2 separate regions of the Homo sapiens genome follow, and region 2 is linked to region 1. The links are contacts of gene promoters, found by promoter capture Hi-C in human tissues and cell types (Jung and others, 2019). All regions are on one chromosome and are shown on one strand. The core of a region is centred on a gene start or on the middle of the fragment in contact, and the rest is flanking DNA. Distances in the headings are between cores, read along the strand shown.

Region 1 (4,281 bases), core at 1,233-3,732:
TAATAGATTCAGCAAAATTCAACCACATTGTCAATAAGTCTTCAAATTCCCACAAAATCTTTGAAATCCTCTCAGTTAAAAAAAATCTAAAAATGTGAACAATCCAAATTACCACCTCTGACGCAAATTACCAAATTGACCTGTCAGCAAGAAACTAACATCTGAGTGAATCCCATATCAGAGAAGATCCAACACTAAGAATCAAAAGACACTGCCTACTGGGGGTACTCTCTGTAATGACTCAGTCATAAAAAGCAATGAAGAAACAAACTATGCTGTTTCTAATTTCTTTTCACATTATGCTTAGAATTTATGAACATGTTCCTATTACCATATTTAAAAGTATCATTTGATTCCATACCTTCTGCCCAGGATCTGCTTTACTTTCATTACTGTATTTGAAATATTTCTTATTCTACTTTGTTTTGCTGCCAATCCAACAATCTGAAAAAAAAAATAATATATATATATATATATTACAATGTATGTAATTTTAAATTATTTCAGAAGTACAAAAATGGGGGGACTAGTACCTCTTCATTTTCTGAGTAAGCAACAACAGCTGGAGTAACTCGGTCACCGGCATCATTTGCAACCACACCAGCCCGGCCATCCTAGAGAAAAAAACACGAAATACATAGTCTCATTAGACGTATTCAGACGTGTGCATTTGTGCACCAGTGTTACTTTGCCATCTGTGTGGAAAGAAAAACTGCTATCTCAATATTTTAAACTTGCAAATTTAATTACCATTTAATTTCCTCGTTTTCATAGAAAGCCTATAATTCCATGAAGAACTGCCTCATGTTTTCAGTCTGCTCTGCAAAGTCAACAATTGAATCAAAAGTAATAACAACCTTTCTACACACAAAACGAAGGCTATTATTACGTTACCTTTCCTACCTCTCTTCCTTCTTACCATTACCATTTCTTTTTTTTTTTTTTTTGGACACGGAGTCTTGCTCCGTGGCCCAGGCTGGAGTGCAGACTGCAGTGCCAGATCTCGGCTCACTGCAACTTCCGCCTCCCGGGTTCAAGCCATTCTCATGCCTCAGCCTCCTGAGCAGCTGGGATTACAGGCGTTCCCGGCTAATTTTTAGTATTTTTAGTAGAGGCGGGGTTTCACCATGTTAGCCAGGCTGGTCTAGAACTCCTAACCTCACGTGATCCGCCTGCCTCGGCTTCCCAAAGTGCTGGGATTACAGGCGTAAGCCACCGCGCTGGGCCCCTTTCTTCCCATTTCTACAAATGAAGTAGTATTATTCCCTTTGGCTTTTCCTAACAAGTCATTTGACATTTAAACGCGGGACTAGTGGCAACGGAGTTCATGATTATCGTTTCTTCTGCCTCCCCACTGATGAGAGAAAGGCCACAAGTCCTGTCAGGCTCTCACTTCCAGAAAGGCCACCTCTGTAGACCACGCACCATCAACTGGCTTCACAGCCAGGCAGCTTTGCGGGACCATCAGCCCCAGCTCGACTGCAGCCTCCCCGCCCCTCCGGGACCTAGACGTTCGGGCCCAGCTCAGCGCGTTCTGCGGCCCTGCTGTCCCAGAGACCACCGCCTCCAAGTACCTCGCGGCCACAACTTTCCCAGGACCTCCCACCCGCGGGAATCCTGAGGCCCTGACGTCAGCGAGACCCCTTCCGGCATCCAGAGGCCAGGACGTCCCCGTGACCTCCCCCAAAATGCTCGCAGCCCCGCCGTCCCCGGGACCCCCCGGGACACCCAGCGGCCCCGCTGTCTCCGGGACCCCCCCGGGCACCCTGCAGCTACGTCGTCCCTGGGACCCCTCCGGGCATCCCGCCGCCATGACGCCCTGGGACCCCGCGCGTCTACATCGCCGCGAGCCTCCGCCGCGGAGTAGACGACTTTCCGGAGGAATCGCCAGGCGCGAGGCCGGGCCTGCCCGGCCCTTCGCTCCGGAGTGTCCTCGCGGCAACGCCACTCCACGACATCCCTAGGCCGGCGACACGCCGCTCTCAAGCCTGTGGATGACCCAGCGCCAGAAAACCGGGTGGCCGTCATGAAGCCCTAGCCCAGCTCCGCAGCCCCTCACCTTATAGACGGCCACACAGGCTGAGGTGCAGCCCAGGTGAACTCCGATGGCCGCCATGAGGCAGCAGGGACGGCAGCGGCAGGAATGAGGGGGTCCCCCAACAGCAACAGCTACCGGCCGCCCAACGGCCCCATCAGGCACCGCGGAGCTTCACGTTCCCGCCAGCCCCCTGCGTCCGGTCGGCCGCTACAGCCTCCCGCGTCGCCGCCAATCAGCGTGAAGGTTCCGCCTTTCTTCACGCGCAGTCCGCGAGTAGCTTCAGCGCGTCTCTGCGCTCCGCGGAAACTGCACAGTGCGCACGCGCAACCGGGGAGGGACGGGAAAAGGCTCCTACACTCCGCCCCCTTCCTATCCCTTCCTTGAGAGCCAATGGAAACTCTGTGTTCAGTTGCGTCATTTGTCCTGGCAACTACTGGCAGATTCTTTCCAACCTCGAATTCTGCTCAGCTCGCTTTGGCAGCTTGGTGGGCGGTGGGCGCGGGTGGCGGAGGCGATTGAAGCTGCTGGCCCAGCATGTGGTGCGCGAGCCCAGTTGCTGTGGTGGCCTTTTGCGCCGGGCTTTTGGTCTCTCACCCGGTGCTGACGCAGGGCCAGGAGGCCGGGGGGCGGCCAGGGGCCGACTGTGAAGGTGAGCGGTGTGACAACTGCTTGCATGGCGGCGGCCCCGCGCTGCGGCGCAGCAGCTGTCGGCTTTGGCTTCTCCTGGCCCTGGCTATAAATAACATTCCGCCCAGGAAATGCAGGCCCTGTCCCTCGTTTTAGATCGCCCAAGCCCAGCTCGAGTAAAAAGCTCAAGCCGGGCCTGGTGGTAACGTGAGGCCACGTTGTGGTTTTGCTGTGAATATTAAACTTCAGCAGTAAAAGCTGGTGGGTTTGTATTTGGATTAGAGTTTGTGCAAAGAATGCTAGATTCAGATGATACTGGCGCCAGATTGATTCTGCTGCTTCCAACCAGCAAGATTTGCCTCCCCTTGCACAGAAGACGTCTTTCAAGTCCAAGCTAGTTGGTGACTCCCCAAAGGAAAACAAAACATGGCATTGAGTTGAGTAGCTTAAATCAGAGGACATAGCTAATATTTGTTAGGACTCTGTAGGTGAAAATTGCTTTGCAAAGGAGTACACTGACTCCTTGGGAAAGAGAGGAATACAAAAGAGTGGTTCCTTTTTGTTCACGGTATCTCAGCTGTGAACTCGCAGTCAGAATACGTGAGTCTGTATCCCACCAAGTCCCCTAGCTCTGAGACTTTGGTTTTTGCAAAATCAGCGTACTTCACTTTAGAGATCTGTTAGCAAAGGCAAAGAAGGTAAGTGGCTATGCTAGCCCCTTCCTTCTGGACTCCTGTAGCGCTCACTCCATGTTTTACTGAAAATAATTAGTTTAAATGTATATGCCCTCAGCTGGAAAATATATCCCTAGTGAACAGGAAATTGTAGGTTCATCATATATGTTGAGTGAATGGATGGGTATAGTCGTACTAAAGTTGTGTTTTTGTTTGTTTTGTTGTTTTGTTTTTTGTTTTTGTTTTTGTTTTGAGACAGTCTCACTGTGTTGCCCAGGCCGGAGTACAGTGGCACAATCTTGGCTCACTGCAGCCTCCATCATCGGGTTCCAGCGATTCTCCTGCCTCAGCCTCCCAAGTAGCTGGTACTAAAGGCACCACCACCACGCCTGACTAATTTTTATATTTTTAATAGAGATGCAGTTTCACCATGTTGGCCAGACTGGTCTTGAACTCCTGGCCTCAGGTGATCGGCCCGCCTCAGCCTCCCAAAGTGCTGGGATTACAGGCGTGAGCCACAGCGCCCAGTCCTTAAAGTGTTAATAATTGGAGCCTGGCTTTCTATGAGCTCTGCAATAATTAAACTTTTCTCCAGAAATTTAAAATATCTACATGTTATTACTCGATATAAAGATATTTGTTTAGCTAAGTTATAATTTTGCTCCAAACCATGCTATAATTGTGTCCTATACTTTTAAAACAGACTTTGTGAGGCAAAGACAATTGATTTGATGACTCATCTGGGGCTCCCACTTATAAATGTTTCAAGAGAGACAGCATCTGGATTAATTAAATGGGAAGCTTATGCTGTCTGTCCTAAATTTATTACAGCATGCTGTGATTATTGCATGTCTGACTAACCTGTCTATATATTTCATTTGTTAGGTAAAGAAGCTTGTGTAATCGCAGAGGAAGGACATAACAGTTTGGTAACTAAAAGAA
Region 2 (4,281 bases), core at 1,061-3,560, 1.0 Mb after region 1:
GGCAAACACAGCATTTACCGGAAGCTTCAAGAGCACCCATCTTGCATTCTACTTCGTAATTCATCAGCGACCTTCTGAGATGTGCCACGTTTACTCCACTGCATTCTCGCAGAGTAGACGTTCCACCAGGAGTGAGGGAGGGTCTGACGTATCACCTTGAATTCCCTGTTGGTTATAGAGATTGCTTTTTCACTTTTTCAAAATTCAGTATGAATGGAAGTATAGACTATGAGGTGGTATTGATTTATCACGTTGGGTTCTCCTGTCCATTCCTGTCTGCTGGGGAGGAAGCTTCAAACCCATTCTTTCAGTTTAAGTGGTTTTCATCAGTGAATTGATGGTCATCTAGGCCCTGAGGCTGCCACCCAGGAGCCCAGGAGTGAGACAGAAAAGGGTGGAGCATCTTCTTTGGCTTTTTAAACTCAGCGCTAGCTCTTACTCCGTGTCCCTGTTAAAAGTCTAAGGTCCCTATGGGCCTGTGCTGCACCTTGCTTATTTTTCTGTCTCCTACAGCATGTGGGCAGTGCCCTGTACATAGTAGGCATTCAATAAATAAATGTCTGTTGTATTAAACAGTCATTTCAATATCAGGGTGCCAGCATGGTTAGCTCCTGGTGAGGGCCACCTTTGCATTTTGGCCCCACATGGCAGAGAGAGGAAGCAGGCTCTCTGGTGTCTCTTCTTATAAGGACACGAATCCCATCTTGGGGGCCCCACCCTCATAAACTCATTTAAACCTAATTGTCTCCCAAAGGTCCCATTTCCAAATACCACTGGATGTCAGAGCTTTAACGCATGCATTTTGGGGAGATATAATTCAGTCCATGGCAGTACCCAAAAAGTGAAATAAGAAACCAACTGTCGGCCAGGTGCAGTGGCTCATGCCTGTAATCCCAACACTGGGAGGCCGAGGCAGGCAGATCACGAGGTCAAGAGATCGAGACCATCCTGGACAACATGGTGAAACCCTGTCTCTACTAAAAATACAAAAATTCGTTGGGCATGGTGGCACGCACCTGTAGTCCCAGCTACTCGGGAGGCTGAGGCAAGAGAATCACTTGAACCCAGGAGGCAGAGGTTGCAATGAGCCAAGATCGCACTACTGCACACCAGCCTGGTGACAGAGCGAGACTCCATCTCAAAAAAAAAAAAAAAAACCAACAGATAATGAAATAACTTTCCTAATATCTGGTGAGTGTGCTTGGAATGGAGTAATTTTCATAGAGGCAATGTATTTTCAAATGCATGACCTGGAAGCTAGTTTAGAAATAACTCTTCTCTTCCGGCCCTGTTTCCGCATCAGACAGCCTTTCCTCCCTCCCCCACTTCAGTGCCTGGTGTTCTGTGGTCACTTCAGTAGTAACAGACCAAGGTGAATAACATGTTAACAATACAAACATCTACCATGACTTTATGCCTAACGCTCTGGTGTGCTTCTTTAGACTGGCAGATATCTTTTTTTTTTTTTTTGAGGCAGAGTCTCACTCTGTCACCCAGGCTGGAGTGCAGTGGCGTGATCTTGGCTCACTGCAACCTCTGCCTTGCAGTTTCAAGCGATTCTCCTTCCTCAGCCTCCCAAGTAGCTGGGATTACTAAAAATACAAAAATTAGCCAGGTGTGATGGCGCACGTCTGTAATCACAGCACTTTGGGAGGCTGAGGCAGGTGGATCACTTGAAGCCAGGAGTTAGAGACCAGCCTGGCCAACATGGTGAAACCCCATCTTTCCTAAAACCAAAAAAAAAAAAAAAAGCCATGCGTGGTGGCATATGCCTATAATCCCAGAGGCTGAGGCATGAGAATCGCTTGAACCCGGGAGGCAGAGGTTGCAGTGAGCGAAGATCATGCCACTGCACTCCAGCCTGGATGACAGAGCGAGACTCCATCTCAATTAAAAAAAAAAAAACCCTTCTAGGAAACAAAACAGAAGGTCTCTATCTGTTGATGACCCTTGACTTGGCTGTGTGCTCATCAGTGTCATTGTCTATTTGTTTGGGTTTATAAAAATCATTTGCTTCAAAATACTTGAGCTTTGTGACATTTCATTGAAAAAATTATGGAAACCTGAGATTGCATATTTTAGGAAAAGCAGTCTCTCATCACTTACCCTTCTTCCATTGTATTCTTCTTGCAGCCCAAGCTGTTGGCCAAGGAGCTTCTTGACCTTGTGGCTTCTCACTTCAATCTGAAGGAAAAGGAGTACTTTGGAATAGCATTCACAGATGAAACGTAAGTACTGCCTTGAGCCCTCACAGCCCGAAGGGAGAGTCAGTGCAGAACCCGAAACTGCTCCACTCCAGCTGTTAGCAGCGAAATCAGCTGCAGACCACTTGGGTCCCATGGTCTGGGGTCAGTCCAAGTTCATCATCTGAATTTCAAAGGCCTTGTGGTCATGCCTGGTACAGCCAAAGGATATAATTAGGGTGATACTAATATTATAAAATTATTAGGTAAACTAGTTCTAATAATCAAGCAGGTTTGTGTTCAGACTGAAATGTTTATTTTTTTTTAAGTGGATCTATGTGAGTTTGTTTTCTATTTAAGTTAAATGAAAACTTCTGGAAATGAAACATTTCTCTCTACTGTTGGGATAACAATAACAGGAAGTGAATTTGATGATAAATTCAAAATGAAAATAACCTGTGCAGTTTCAGTGTCTAAACTGAAATAAAGCGACTATGAAAATAAAAAATTCAGATCACTGATCTGATGAGAAGAATATTTGCTTTCAAGGGTCTTTTCAGTTTGGCTCTATAAAGTGGTGTTGTGTAATACAAGTAAGGAAAATCTTTACTAAAATTTCCATTTTCTTTTTAAGGTACTGTTATCAAAAGAGTATACTGAATACCTGTATAGATTTCTAGATAAAAATGAGCTATTCTAAGAAAATAGTTCATAATTCTCTTTCCTCTGTGCACACACGTACAGTCACAAACACACACACAGACTCTCTCTCTCTCTCTCTGTCTTCCAGATCTTCAGAAATACAGAGATGATTTCCTAAACTACTAATAGATCAGTGTTAGGTTAGTGGCCAGGCAAGACAGTACAGGGGAGCCGAGGCCCTGGGAATCAGGTGGTGCCACTGAAGCAAGAACAGGTGGGCATCCACATGGGCCAGTGAGAGAGGCAACCAGGTGTCCCTGCACATGGCTACACTTGGCCTTGGTGAGATGCAAGTGGAAGGGGTGGTCTTATGACTTATTATCCAAATTGAGACACTGAACAAAAGGGGGTGTCGTTGGGACTGTCTTGGGCAAACCGGACCATCTGGTCACCCTGTAAATCAGGGACATTTCAGGCTGTGGTGTGTTCAGAGAGCAGGCAGCAGGAGCAAAGCCACATCTTCCTCAAGAAAGCTGGGAGGAGCAAGGTGGGCCCCTCGTCCTGGAGCCTGCAGGGAACTGGAATGCAGGTGGGAGTGGCCGTCGGTGGGCAGGAGGAATTGCAGGCAGGGCCAAGTAAGCCCAGCTGGGAAAGGTTCAGGGCTGTGCGGGGAAGGACCCAGCACTGCAATTTTTTTAAAAGCTTTTAAACAAATGCACATGTAGAACAATTACTTTTACAAATGTAGATTATTCTCTCCCCTTTCTCCTGAGAATCACTGTAAACCACTTAAATTGCTGTTGAGACTATTTTCACTAATCAGAAGGAAACCCTAAGTTTCAATTAATCATAGCCCCATTGTTCACATTTCCCACGTAAGTTTACTAAAAGATCCCGTGAACTCTAGAGGAGGCCTGATTAGGCTTCCCTTTTGAATAAACAAGAATTGAAAAACGAACGTGTGATCCTGGGCTGAAGGGGAAGATGATGTGAGTCTGCAGAACATTTCAGATCACTGCCCTAACAGCACTGACTGGCAGGAATCGGACCTAGGTAGAAAGTCACTCTTCTCCCAGGAGGGTTGAGAGCACCAAAACCACACGTCACAGCAGGGGGTGCACACACCCAAGTTCAGCTTCCCCATCCAGCTAAGCTGGTACACTCCATGTCTGAGTTCTCCTGGCTCTCTGTGCTGACCAGGAAAGCATGTGCGTGCATGCGTGTGTGCGTGCGTGTGTGCGTGCGTAGAAGCCAGGCTGGATAAAAGTGTCTTGCCCCCTCTAGTAGTGGAGCTGGCTATGTGGAGGCTCTGTGGGGGGCAGTGATGAAGAGGAGTGAGCCATCCTTCTGGCATGATCCAGAGAAAGTGCAGCCATTTCCATCACCTGCCCCAGAGTCTAGGTGGGAGGGTCTCTCCAGCCACAGAAGGAGTGGCGGCCAGCCAGCTGGAGGTCAC

What was found. Contacts are between HindIII fragments. The study calls those that stand out against the background at their distance.
Region 2: a fragment that was not itself captured here is called in contact with the fragment with the promoter of CDNF in region 1 in 1 of the 25 tissues and cell types used here (dorsolateral prefrontal cortex).

Annotation. Positions count from the first base shown.
Region 1 is chr10:14,836,238-14,840,518 of GRCh38, reverse strand. It overlaps CDNF (cerebral dopamine neurotrophic factor), which reads left to right and starts at 2,482. Exons shown (of 4, transcript NM_001029954.3): 1 at 2,482-2,687. The coding sequence starts at 2,573. It overlaps HSPA14 (heat shock protein family A (Hsp70) member 14), which reads right to left and starts at 2,213. Exons shown (of 14, transcript NM_016299.4): 1 at 2,060-2,213; 2 at 534-614; 3 at 362-444. The coding sequence starts at 2,116. MSANTD7 (Myb/SANT DNA binding domain containing 7) reads right to left here and starts at 2,213. Exons shown (of 5, transcript NM_001378785.1): 1 at 2,060-2,213; 2 at 534-614; 3 at 362-444. RefSeq lists an enhancer at 1,930-2,169 and a silencer at 2,320-2,429. The HindIII fragment of the contact is 11,564 bases long and covers 1-4,281 here.
Region 2 is chr10:13,808,761-13,813,041 of GRCh38, reverse strand. FRMD4A (FERM domain containing 4A) reads left to right here. Exons shown (of 25, transcript NM_018027.5): 4 at 2,134-2,228. Among named protein-coding and RNA genes, the nearest start is that of FRMD4A-AS2, 180 kb to the left of the region's middle. The HindIII fragment of the contact is 4,303 bases long and covers 159-4,281 here.